Regions from separate parts of the Homo sapiens genome. Here all the other regions are linked to region 4. Evidence: promoter capture Hi-C in 16 types of primary human blood cells and fetal thymus (Javierre and others, 2016). All regions are on one chromosome and are shown on one strand. Each heading gives the region's core, a stretch centred on a gene start or on the middle of the fragment in contact. The rest is flanking DNA. Distances are from core to core; before and after follow the strand shown. Region 1 overlaps ORC5 (origin recognition complex subunit 5). Region 2 overlaps ORC5 (origin recognition complex subunit 5). Region 3 overlaps ORC5 (origin recognition complex subunit 5). Region 4 holds the start of PMPCB (peptidase, mitochondrial processing subunit beta).

Evidence for each region. The method cuts DNA at HindIII sites, captures the fragments that hold promoters and counts their contacts. A CHiCAGO score of 5 or more calls a contact.
Region 1: a contact is called between a fragment that was not itself captured here and the fragment with the promoter of PMPCB in region 4, in 6 of 17 cell types (total CD4 T cells, naive CD8 T cells, non-activated CD4 T cells and 3 more). The highest score is 8.7, in total CD4 T cells.
Region 2: a fragment that was not itself captured here is called in contact with the fragment with the promoter of PMPCB in region 4 in 12 of 17 cell types (naive CD8 T cells, M2 macrophages, total CD4 T cells and 9 more); the score reaches 12.8 in naive CD8 T cells.
Region 3: a contact is called between a fragment that was not itself captured here and the fragment with the promoter of PMPCB in region 4, in 12 of 17 cell types (non-activated CD4 T cells, activated CD4 T cells, naive CD8 T cells and 9 more). The highest score is 15.7, in non-activated CD4 T cells.

Annotation. Positions count from the first base shown.
Region 1 is chr7:104,146,131-104,149,197 of GRCh38, forward strand. All of the region lies in intron 12 of ORC5 (origin recognition complex subunit 5), which reads right to left. Among named protein-coding and RNA genes, the nearest start is that of ORC5, 60 kb to the right of the region's middle. The HindIII fragment of the contact is 1,366 bases long and covers 860-2,225 here.
Region 2 is chr7:104,185,996-104,189,420 of GRCh38, forward strand. ORC5 (origin recognition complex subunit 5) reads right to left here. Exons shown (of 14, transcript NM_002553.4): 6 at 2,256-2,386. Among named protein-coding and RNA genes, the nearest start is that of ORC5, 20 kb to the right of the region's middle. The HindIII fragment of the contact is 539 bases long and covers 1,266-1,804 here.
Region 3 is chr7:104,169,496-104,172,793 of GRCh38, forward strand. All of the region lies in intron 8 of ORC5 (origin recognition complex subunit 5), which reads right to left. Among named protein-coding and RNA genes, the nearest start is that of ORC5, 37 kb to the right of the region's middle. The HindIII fragment of the contact is 2,228 bases long and covers 415-2,642 here.
Region 4 is chr7:103,296,077-103,299,355 of GRCh38, forward strand. PMPCB (peptidase, mitochondrial processing subunit beta) reads left to right here and starts at 1,359. Exons shown (of 13, transcript NM_004279.3): 1 at 1,359-1,482; 2 at 2,492-2,632. The coding sequence starts at 1,384. RefSeq lists enhancers at 1,154-1,213, 1,314-1,613. The HindIII fragment of the contact is 11,349 bases long and covers 1-3,279 here.

The sequences.
Region 1 (3,067 bases), core at 293-2,792, 850 kb after region 4:
TTTTCTAAATCACATTTGATTAAACATTTTAACACCTTCTGATACTCAAGACAGTATCTGAAAAAGTGAGAAAGTAAAAGGAATGGCAGTATGGTTTCCACACTTCACTTGAAGTGGTAAAACATATACGCCTTATAAAACTAAGCAGGCAATTACCGTATTACCCTGCAATTGCACTTATGCATTTATTCCAGAGAACTGCATGTTCACATAAAAACTAGTACATGAATGTTCCTAACAGCTTTAATTGTAGTAGCCAAAAAACGGGAAAGAACCCAGATGTCCTTCAACAGGTGAATGGTTAAACAAACTGTGGTATATGTATACCACAGAATACTCCTCAGTAATTAAAATGAATGAACTATTAATACATGCAAAAATTTGGATGAATCTGAGGAATTATCCTGACTCAAAGAAGTTAATTCCCAAGTGTTATATACTATATGATTATGCTTAAACAAATTCTTGAAATGACAAAATTCTAGAGGTAGCAATTACCAGTTAACAGGAATTGGGGAAGGGGAGGAAGAGAGGAAGGTATGGTCATCAGTGAGTATCACGGAGAATCCTTGTGATAATGGAACCGGTCTTGACTGTGGTGGTGAATTAACAAAACTATGCACAGGATAAAATTTCATATAACCAAATATATATAGACATACACAAAAGAATACAAATAGAAGTAGGGAAATCTGAATGAGATCAGTAGATTGCATTAATGTCAGTTTCCTGGTTGTGATATTTTACTATAGCTTTGCCAGATGTTATACCACTGTGGGGAACCAGTAAAGGACACACAGGAAGAGAGAATACACATTATGTTTTACAACTGTGTGTGAATCTATAATTACCTCAAAAAAGCTTAATTAAAAAATAAAACACTGATAACGTACTCAAAATATAGAGGGCTTTGAGAAATACCTTGTAAACTGTCAGAATAAATGTTATCTCAAAATGTTTTAAGTAGCTATGAAGCTAAAAAAATCTACTTGTAAAAATAAAAACACTTTTTAACCCTTATTTGTAAAGATTTTTAAATCTCTCCTACTTAAAGGCAGATGATTAGTTATGACTTGGGGCTCAGACTCAAGGAGGATTTGTAGCTACTGGTTTCATGCTGTGAGTCCATAAAGGTCCTTACAAATTTGCCACAAACCTGTGACTAGTAAAACTTATTACTTCCTCTACAGCAAAGGAAGATTATAGCAAAAGTATTGCTATATAAATCCCAACCGGAGTGTTCTATTTTTCCAAATTCTTACTTTATATATTTTTGAATGATAAAAGTTCTGTTTTTATTTGTTTGTTTTGGGGCTATAAAAGCCAACTGCACTTCAAATTTATTAAAAATAAATTTTTCAACATAAAAATAATTGCACAGTAAAATTCTGAGCTTGCCCATCAGGACTTGAAACTTTGGAGATCAATACTTCACTTAATAGATGATGAAAGAGACATCATAAAAGGACAATTGGCATTATCAGTCCCTAGTCAGTCACCCACACAAATGAACGTTTCCAAATATTTAATCCAAAAGTCCCAATGAAAAATAATACAACACATATGTCGTGCTAAAGGTTTGCTAGAAAACATTTCAGAGTTGTAACAACAAATTTTAAATTAAACACTTGTTTTAAGAATACTGAACATATTAAAAACATTTAGCCAAAATAATACTTCACATTGGGTGTTGATGATTAGAAAATGGTTTGCCAAGACTACTGCTACTGTGAATAAAGAACACCAGTATGAGCCTATGTGCTTTTATCTTTTTTTCTGCTGTCTTTCAAAATTCCTGAGAATGACACATATGTGTTTTGGCATTTACTCCTTCCCTCAGGTTCTAGCAGAGGATATGGACAAAACTTGAGGGGCAGGGGTCAGGGAAAGATAGCTATAGGAACTAATTAATACTATTAATGACCATGGTAATTAGTGGCATATGGACTGGAATTTATTACTGTGTCCAGGCTCTGTGACAGACATTGTGCATCCTCAATTCTCACAAAAACCCTCCCATGATTACTATAAATAAATCTCTCTTTTCCAGACGATGACACCACCTCAGAGAGGTGAGTAAATTGCTCAAGGTCACGAAGTTAACAGTGGTTAAGAACAGCACTGGCTTTGAATACTATCTGAATCCAAAGCCCATATTCCTTATACTACCCCAAACAAGGAGCTATAGAATACAAAGAGATAATTTTGTTGGGCGAGATTAGGAAAGCTTTATGGAAGAAGGAAATGACTACTCCACCTTGCATTCTACAGTGAAGGCAATAACTATTAGTATGCTGGAAAAGTAAGAAACCCAGGAGAGCAGGCAATGCAAGTAAAACAGAGAAAAAGCCTTAAATGAAATTGTAGCAATAAGGACAAAGAAGTATCTCAATACAGTACAGGCAAATGTCCTGCCACAGGGATATAGAATAACCTTGAGAAGTAACAATTAACAATACTGTGAACAGAATTGTTAGATGTATGAGTTTGATGTCACAAAAGTAAAACATTAATGTGGAATTGATTTAACCTAATGACAGGTTAATTTTTCATAAGTCAGATTATATATTACATTAGACATTAAATTGCTGTTTTTAAGGTTTAATTTTTAAAAGGTAAATATTGGCCAATGTTGGCTCACACCTGTAACCCCCGCACTTGGGGAGGCCGAGGCAGGCAGATCACTTGAGGTCAGGAGTTCAAGACCAGCCTGGCCAACATGGTGAAACCCCAGGTCTATTAAAGATACAAAAATTAGCTGGGTGTGGTGGCGCATGCCTGTAGCCCCAGCTATTTGGGAGGCTGAGGCAGGAGAATCGCTTGAATCTGGGAGGCAGAGGTTGCAGTGAGCAGAGACTGTGCCACTGCACTCCCACCTGGGCGACAGAGTAAGACTCCGTCTCAAAAAAAAAAAAAAAAAGTAAATTTAAGGTTGGGGGAAAGCATGATTTCTTAAATCCAGAAATTATTAGATGATATTGAAGATGGTATCCCAAAGCAGTTTCTTACACATTTGTGGATTAAAGGTCATTTACAGAAACATTCACAACTACAACTCATAAAATAT
Region 2 (3,425 bases), core at 285-2,784, 890 kb after region 4:
TCTACTAAGTGTAGAGAAGAAGAATCAAAAAGAAATTATTCGCTTTAGCCAAACTTTCTTACCTTAATTTTAGATTTTCAGATCTAAGCATGGTGTAATAACACTAAAGTGTCATAATGTTAACAGCAACTGGTACACAATTTGGCTAATCAAAATAAACAACTGACCCTTGAACGACATAGGTTTGAACTGTGAGGGTCCACTTGTCTACAGATTTTTTTTTTTTTCCAACCAAACACAGATCACAAACACAGATCAAAAACAGTACTCAGGGAATACAAAACCCATGTATATGGAGGGCTAACTTTTTTACACTCAGGTTCTGCGGAGTTGATCGCAGGGTTTGAGTGTGCTAGGATTTTGATATATATGGGACTGGTCCTGGAACCAATCCCCCAAGTATACCAAGGGGCAACTGTATTGATTTTCTCTTTGGTTGAAACACTAAAATATGTTTAATAATTTATGAATAACAGTTAAAAAGGCAGTATCATAAGGTTTGTTAGAGAAAACAAACCTAAATGAATATCAAAGTAGTACTTCATTTTCTCCTATCTTAAGCTACCTATAGAACTAGCCTCTGAAAAATACAGAAATATCAATTCATAAAGCATCTTTCCAGAAAAGATCCCTGAAAAGAATATTTTTCAGGTGATTTAATAAACTTTCAAGAAATATGCCACTTACAAACTTTGAAACAAACACAAACAACACTATCTGAAGAAAAAAAAGAAAATGAATATCTTTATTCTTCCATGTTCTATATATAGAGAAAACTAAGAACATTGTGCTATTTTTCTCTAATGTTTAAGGATCCTTTTCTCTATTATTACCAATAGTAGTATAAGACTTAAACCATACTACACATTTATGAATATTATTTTTTAAAAAGCTGTAACCTCACCCTAAATAAAATCATTCCACAGTGAAACTCGAAGAACTTTAAAAAATACCACATTTAAATATATATTTCTCTCTTTACATTTTATTTTCCCATAAATATTTTCCCTAAATTTTTCCTTCTTGTACTTTATAATCTACTTTGAAATGGCTGTCAGCACAGATTCCCACAGGATTCGAGTGCTAAAGAGTGGTAACTGCAAGTTACTTTCCAGGAAAGACCGAGGAGGATTATCTGCTCCTAAGTCCATCTCACTCAGGTGCGTTTTCCTGACCCTCTCCTCTCTGTAAGTCTCTTGTGTTATCATTTCCCTCAGAAGCCAGGGATCCCAAGACATCCAACTTCTAGAGGAATGTTAGTGATAAGCTTGAACTGGAAAAACTGTTTTGTTTTTTCCCAGCTGAGAAGATGTCTGAAATCTACATGTAAATCAGAGGAGCCCTGAAATCTGAAACTTTCAAAAACATACTAAATGTGAGCATAATTTTAAATGATTGCCTTCTGTGTTCTGTCGCAAACACACACTGAAACTAAGTAATACTTTTCAGGGCAAAAACAGAAAAAGAACAAAGTGAAGAAAATGTGCTAAGAGACATAGAATCTGTTACTTTGAAAGTGACTGTTTTCCAGCCTCAGATATATTACTATTTTCTGTTAAATGGAGATAAGATCTTAATTAATTGAAGATTTCTAAAAGGGAAAACAGAAATTCTTGTCTCTTTCCTTTCCCATCCCTACAATTAAAACAAAAAAGGTCAAAGAAAAATTAAACATCAACATTTTCCAAACTGTCTATGAAATATAAACAGCTATTCTAATTGTTAAAAAAAAAAAATTAAAAAGAACCATCTATACAAAGATTACCAGCTCAGGGTCAGTGGTTAATGAAAGACCTGCAATGAAAGCTTCTGACCATACTCAAATCCATCTAGATTCTAGACCTCAATCACCGCATACATAAAACTTGAACAAAATCTGTTACAAAATATTAACAGAGTTGTAAAACTGCTCAAGTTTTTACATCTCTTTTCTGTTATTCCTCATTTTGATTTTTATGGAGTTCTGCATTTTCTGCAATTAGAGAAAAAACAAGGAAGAGTAAGAAGATCTGAGAATGACATTTTTCTGATCAGATCAAACAATCAAAGTTTGTACTAACCCACAGACATCTACCTTCTTATGGTATGTTAGTCTCTAGAGGCCATATGCAAATTCCCAGAATAAAATTTCAGTTTCTAACCTATCTCATACCATTTCTACATGGAAAACATTAAAATACATATATACACATATATGTATACACACACACACACACACACACATATATATATATTCAAGCAAAATGTTCATTTACCAGATGTCTGAGCTCTTTCAAATCTCGACAAACAGTGTAGAAAACTCCAAGAAGAATGTTAATGTAGGCAGCATAGAAATCAGCTGAATACTCTGGAGGATGATCATGGGACAGGATCTTTTGAAGGTTGCCTGTTCACAGGACACAAAATAACTTATAATGATTAACATAGTACACTAATCATATCTTCAAGCATTTTATAACAAAGGTATTAAAAAAAAAACACCCAGACCCAGCAACAATTAAGGAATAATAAAACTATTACAAGATTAGAATACAAAAGTGTGATTTGTGATATAATAAAAAATATATATTTGATCTTCACTGCAGTTCCTGGCACAGAGCTTCTAAAAACCCTCATAATTCCCTGAATGAGAAGGATAAGAGGAGTATCTTTTGTTACTCATAATAAGTCCTTTTAAAACATACCTCAATTTATACTAATGAGGTGTTTCTTGATGGGTGATATGGTTTGGCTCTGTGTCCCCACCCATATCTCATTTGAAATTTTCAGTGGAGGAGGGGCCTCGTGGGAGGTGATTGAATCATGAGGCAGACTTCCCCCTAGCTGTTCTTGTGATAGAGTTCTCATGAGATCTGGTTGTTTCAAAGTGTGCAGCACTTCCCCCTTCATGCTCTCTCTCCTGCTGGCCATGTGAAGATGTGTTTGCTTCCCCTTCACCTTCCACCATGATTCCAAGTTTCCTGAGGCCTCCCCAGAAGCAGAAGCCTGTACAGCCCACAGACTGTGAGTCTATTAAACCTTTTCTTTATAAATTTATAAATTACCCAGTCTCAGGTATGTTTATAGCAGTGTGAGAATGGACTAATACAGCGGGCCCCTAGATAGCTTCAGGATGGGGACTGGTTGTCAGAGGAACCAACCAAGTGATTAGAGCCCTGTATTGTCACATACACTGCTATGAAGAAATACCCATGACTGGGTAATTTACAAAGAAAAGAGGTTTAATTGACTCACAGTTCTGCATGGCTGGGGAGGCCTCAGGAAACTTACAATCATGGTGGAAAGCACTCAACAGGGCAGTAGGAGAGAGAATGAGTGCCAGCAGGGAAAATGCCGGATACTTATAAAACCAACAGCTTTCGTGAGAACTCAGTATCTTGAGAACAGCATGGGGGAATCGCACCCATGATTCAATTACCTTCCAA
Region 3 (3,298 bases), core at 279-2,778, 870 kb after region 4:
AAAATGAATAGTTTACTCATAAAAAAAAATAAGGCAGTTTGATGCAAAGGTGCTCACCAACTCTAAAACTCTCACAGAACTCTTAAAAATGAGCTAATTTACAGGGCTAATTTAAAAATAATGCCAGATTAGAACAATTAAATATCCAAAATCTGCATGAAGAACAGGGTGGAAGTGATAAGGATGAGTGTGGGCCTTCTTTGAGTATACTTTAAAAAAAGTAGTTTTAGCTTTTGAAGTATTCTTTGATGCCCATCTCTCACCTGTATAGCAATCAACAAGTTTAATTTTCCCCTTTCTCTTTTCCTTCTTTTCCCAATTTTTAAGTTGTAATATTCCTACCTTGTCAGAATACATAATATTTACATACTATTCTTCTACTCTTATTTCCACCTTAATTTTAGTTTGGAGCTAAGCTTAATTAAATTCAATGTTCATCATCAATCCTTTTGTTAGTTTCTCCAGTCATCTCTTTTTCACATCAAGGTCGTCCTAAGAAATGTCTTATGAGTAGTGTTCTCTGAGTTCTTCCATGTTTAATATTGTTTTTCTCTAGCCTTGATAGTTCAATGACAGGTTTGACTGAACATAAAATTATTTGGCTTACACTTCCTTTCTCCTTGAGTTTCTTGAAATTGTTGATCCATTTGTTTCACTTTTTCACTGACTTTCCTTTGTAAGTGACTTTTATTTTTTGCCTGAAAGCTCAGAGGTTTTTTTCTGTTATTTTTAAAGTCTAAATGCTTTCCAAGAAGTCTCTGTAGTAGGCTGAATAATGGCTCTGCCTCCAAAGATACCAAAGTCCAAATCCCTAGAACATGTGAATACATTCTTATGGGGTAAAAGGGACTTAGCAGATGTGACTGAGTTAAGGATCTTCAGATAGACATTACACTGCATTATCCAGATAGGCCCAATAGAGTCAGAAGGATCCTTCTAAGAGGAAGACAAGTCAGAGAGAAGAGAAAATGCTACACTGCTAGCTTAGAAGATGGAGAATGGAACCACAAGCCAGGGAATGAAGGCAGCCTCTAGAAGTTAGAAAAGGCAAAGAAATAGATTCTCCTTGAGAACCTCCAGAAGAAAAGCCCTGTGGACCTGTTTTAGACTTCTGACATACAAAACTGTAAGACAGTAACTATGTGTTGTCCTAAATCACTAAATTTCTGATAATTTGTTACAGTACAATATACTAGTACAGTTTCAGAATTGATCATTCTGGATTAATTGGGAAAATGAACTGTTTTAATGTGTAAAGCTAGGTCTTCTATTTCTGGAACGTTTTCTTGGATTATAATTTTAGATCTTAACTCCAATCCATTGTTCTTTTCTGTCTTCAGGAGCTCCAATTAAATATATGTTAAATCTTCTTTGTCTATCATATTTGTCACATCCTACCTGATTATTTTTACCTCTTTTTTTAGTTTTGTTCTCTTGATTATTTTCAGTCCTTTCCTCAATGTCTCTTACTATATTCTCAGTTGAATCTACTTTCCTTTGGATATCTTATTTTTTCATTTTCATTTCTGAGATAACTACTATTGCCTGAACTTTGCTCCTGAGTTTGATCAACTTTTATTTCACATCCCCCTGTTCTTTGTCCATTTATTCTAAGTTATTGAATTTCAAACTTAAAGAATGCTTTCCATACCTGAAAATGCTTTTTAAACAAACCTAAACCAAGTAAAGGTGTGGTATTGCAGTCTTCCTCTGCTTTGTTTTGGGTGTTAAGGGGGAAATGTTCATCAACTAAACTGTTTTATTCACATTTTCTGTTTCTTCCTAAATAATACCTTTACATGGCTTTTCCATGTTGTCTTTTATTCATTTTGAAATACCTAATGTTTGGCTTGGTCAGTAATAACAGGTGACTTTATGAATGCAGGGGTAAGGTTGCGGAATGGCACAATTACTTAATTCTAAAGTGCTCCCTTCTGGAAAAATAATGAAGTCAAGTTTCTTTAATATATGGTGCTATTATGAAAAGGAGGGATTAGCTTCTGATTTTGTCATTTCTTTTTTATTTGGGGGATGAGAGGAATCTTTAATTTCTATCCTTTCTTTCCATTCTTTTCCTTCATTACCAACTCTCAAAGGAATACCACACCCTTCTGAATCAACTACTTGTCTCTCCTCAAAACAGTACTTTCCCAAGACTATCATGCTAACTCTGGCCCCCATACTCTTAAAACAAAAAAAATACAAAAAATTAGACAGGTGTGGTGGCGCATGCCTATAGTCCCAGCTACTCGGGAGGCTCAGGTGGTAGGATCACCTGGACCTAGGGAGGTTGAGGCTGCTATGAGCTGTGATCTTGCCACTGCACTCCAGCCTGGACGAGACAATGGGACCCTGTCTCAAAAAAACAAAAAAACAAAAAACAAAATGTCACTTTGATTCTCCAGTAGCCAGTGCTCTAATCCTTCCAGCCTCAGAACTGTTCAATACTTTCTCACTCAGGGTTGAACTCTCTTTCTTCAAGTAATTTCATTTGTATTTCACCACTACTAGTCAACGTATCCCTTGTCCCAACAATCTTCTCTTTTCCTTTCAGTCTTTGTTTGACTTTTCACCTCAGCATGAGCTCCAGAGCTGGCCCTGTTGGTTTCAGTTGTTTACTTCACTACTGGTATATAAAATGAAGCTTGTAGCAATCTCTAACTCCTGTTAATACAGCAGGCAAGAGTTATGGGTGGTTCTATTAGCTCTCTTTATTGATATTGTGGACACAATTGAATTTAGGTGGCCATAATTATCCTATGGGACTAGAAGTCCTTTCATTATTATGTAAGAATCATTTTAACAAGCAAACAAGTTTTCCTACATTTAGAAGATCACAAGCTTTTCCATTCTATGATTTCTAAAAACTCTCATTAAATGAATTTTTGTTACTGAAAAAGGAAAAGGAGTAATAGTATCTTTGTAGTATTTCTGCTAATTAAGAAACTACCAAATTTTTACCTGAATTATAGGCTAATCAGTTAATTAAACTGAAATCAAACAAAATTATTAAGGAATAGTTAGTGATAGAATAAGGCATTCATGAGAGAAAAATGGTAAAAAAAATTGACTAGAAAGAAAAGCAGACAGTGTTGATATTTTTAGGTTTCCTATATTGATTTGTAATCTAGGCTTAATCTAATATCTATAAGACACTTCAATATTTACAATAATTTTCAGATACATTATCTAAATCTTCTAAGGACTGTTAGAGGAGAAAGCCAAAGCCTAGAGGTTTTAGGACTTGCTAAGTTCACATACGGCAGACAATGGCTGAGCTGGAAGTCAAAATCATGTT
Region 4 (3,279 bases), core at 109-2,608:
GGAGTTTTGGGCAAATGTAGGTATGATTGGCTGTTTGGCATTGCAAATATGGGAAGAGATTCAGGGGACACAGTGAATTCCCTTTTGGACAAGTTGATATTGAGTTTCCAATGGGGTATTCAAGTGTAGTTTCCTAGTAGTTGATGGTTAAGTGGGCTGGAGCTCAAGAGAAAGGCCTGGGTTGGGCAGACAGGTCTTGAAGTGGAGGGAAAAACCCAGAGGGAGAATGTTCAGTAGAAGAGGCTTAGAGTCCTGGCAAACACCAACTTTTAGGGCAAAATGTAGTGTTTCACAGCACAGTCTTTGGCGTTAACCTATTACTAGCAGGGTAACCTGGGGCAAGTTATTTGACTTCAGTGTCTTAATTGCAAAATAAGCACTATACCATCTACCTGAGTTAGAAAAGCATTTGCAATTTTTAGTTCCTTGAGAGATCTGTGGGCTGGGCGCAGTGGCTCACGCCTGTAATCCTAGCACTTTGGGAGGTGGAGGTGGGTGGATTACCTGAGGTTAGGAGTTCAAAACCAGCCTGACCAATATGGTGAAACCCCATCTCTACTAAAAATACAAAGTAGCCAGGCGTGGTGGCACATGCCTGTAATCCCAGCTACCTGGGAGGCTGAGGCAGGAGAATTGCTTGAACCCAGGAGGCAGAGGTTGCAGTGAGCTGAGATTGCACCACTGCACTCCAGCCTGGGCAACAAGAGTGAAACTCCATCTCAAAAACAAAAACAAAAACAAAAAACAGATCTGTGAATAAAGAGGAGTCCAAGAAGGTGCAGAGGGAACTATGAGGAGGTGGAGCTCTAGAATATATTGAGAAAAGAGAATTTCAAAGAAGCCAACAATGTCAAATCCTCCAACAGGACTGTAACATAAGTCTGTAAAGTGTCCAACTTTTAGCAATTAGTGACCTTACCAAGGGCAATTTCTATGGAATGAGATGAGCCATATTGTAGAGGTTCGAAGAGTGGATAGTGGTCAACACGGATACATCGTTTCCTCCCCTCACGGCATCTGTCTCTCCCACTAGACTTTTCCTTTAAAGGCAGTGACTTATGAATATTATTCCACTGTTTTCAATCAATTCCATCCACCAGTGAGATATATTGCATCAGGTTACCTTTCATTCCACCGCATTTGTGCCTTGCACTTAGTAGGCGATCGATAAAATAACTGATGATAAAGGGGCTTCTGCAGACTCCCCAATTCATTTGGTAAAGACCGCTCAGCATCATGGTCGGGCCCTGATTGCTTTCACAACCGCTTCGAGGAGTGTCATTCCCATCACGGCCACAAGGTGGAGCCCACCTCCCTGCTCTGGGACCTCAGGTCGCGACCCCGGAAGCACATCCTTCATCCTCTACCTTCCTTCTAGCAGAAATGGCGGCTGCGGCGGCTCGAGTGGTGTTGTCATCCGCGGCGCGGCGGCGGCTCTGGGGTTTCAGCGAGAGTCTTCTAATCCGAGGCGCTGCGGGACGGGTGAGCTTCCCTCCAGGCCGGTCCTGTCCTCGAGATCTCGCCAGACCCGGCGCAGCGCACCTGAGAGTCGGCGCCACAGATCCGAACAGTGGGTCGGGCAGGGCCTCCTCGACCCGGACCCGCCGGGCGCCAGGCGGCCTGGGGCTGCTGAACTGGCCGGGGGTGACTGGCTTGTGGCCACCCGCCAGGAGACCTGCTAGTGACGTGTGGGATGACCCTGGTTTTCGGCTCCTCCCGCCAGCTACTGAGGAGTGCATGTTTGACCACTAAAAACGTAGTGCTTGCAAATTGGGGAAAACTAAAAAGTGAAATGGGTACCGCTCCAGAGTTCTATTTTTGCCTAAGACTGAACTTCGTCCTCAGCTGGGCTTCCCGCGAACCTGGACATCAATGAAGTAAAATTTTTTATGTATTTGCATTTTTCTCATGAGAGAGCCTCTGACTTTAAGCAAAGGGATGTGAGACTTTTGTATAAGGGCAAAGAAAAACTGCTGAAAGGCGAATAGTTTCTGGCCGAAAAGCCAGTCATTTGCATTTTGAACATCGACCCATCTTCCTATCCTCTCTCTCTTTTTTTTTTTAACCATTTCCAAACCCTGTTGCTTTTCTTGAACAATGAAAACCCGAGTGTCAGTTTTGTCTTGTGTGTAGGTAGTTTTACATAGTTTCCCTCTCTTTTTTTTTTTCCTGCTTGTTTTCTCCATAATGAATATAAAACATTTCTAGGAGAGGTAGTGAAATAAAGTCAATTTCTCTCTGGGTAATGATAATAATTGCTCATCTTCCCTGAGGGAAGGGCATGTTTATAAACACGTTGCTGGCTTTAGGACAGTGGCTGGTGACAGATGTTTCTAGGCCAGGCAGAGATCTCAGTGGAACCAAAATTCAAGAAGAAAGATTCTTTTATAGAGACAGCCTATTTAAAATAGATTTGGTTTTAAAAGCAACATTTAATATCAGATTAGTAATGTGTTTTGCTTTGTCTCTTCCACTTCCTACCCCCAACCAGTCATTATATTTTGGAGAGAACAGATTAAGAAGTACACAGGCTGCTACCCAAGTTGTTCTGAATGTTCCTGAAACAAGAGTAACATGTTTAGAAAGTGGACTCAGAGTAGCTTCGGAAGACTCTGGGCTCTCAACATGCACAGTAAGTGACTCAGGCAACCTTCTCTAAGTGACCCTTCATTTAGCGTAGCAAATTGTTGATTTTAATCTTTAGCTTTTTCGTTGGCTGGTGGTTCAAAAAGGGTGACAGTTATTTTGCCTTGACAGATTTCCATGAGTTGTGAACCTTTTCTTCCAGTGGTACTTAGTTACAGGGTGCATATGTATCCTGTTGCATTGTCTGCATCTTGTTCTTGTAGCTTATTATTGATTATTTATTTTCAGTAGTATTGATAATAATGAAAGAAATATGTTTGCAGGGCTACTCTGCCAAGTGTTTTTACTGATGTCTTATTTGATAAAAAGCAATTGTTTGTAGTGGGCATCCTCACACCTGTTTTATAGTTAAGGAAGTGAGAGAAGTTAAATGGTTTTGTTCAGGTAACTCAGCTAATACATGACAGAGCCAGGATTTCAACCGAAGTTTTCTGACAGTCTCTGATGTTCTTGATACTACAGTTATTAATTGGCTGGATTAATGAGTTGGGCAAAGAATCCTCATTGAAGGTGGCAGGTAGATACTTGTAGCACCCAGCAGTATCCTGATCGAAATTTTTAAATCTCATAGTTCACAGGAATGAACTATCAATTCACTCAGGTCAAGAAAATCTTAGTGTTAAGACCAGAAAG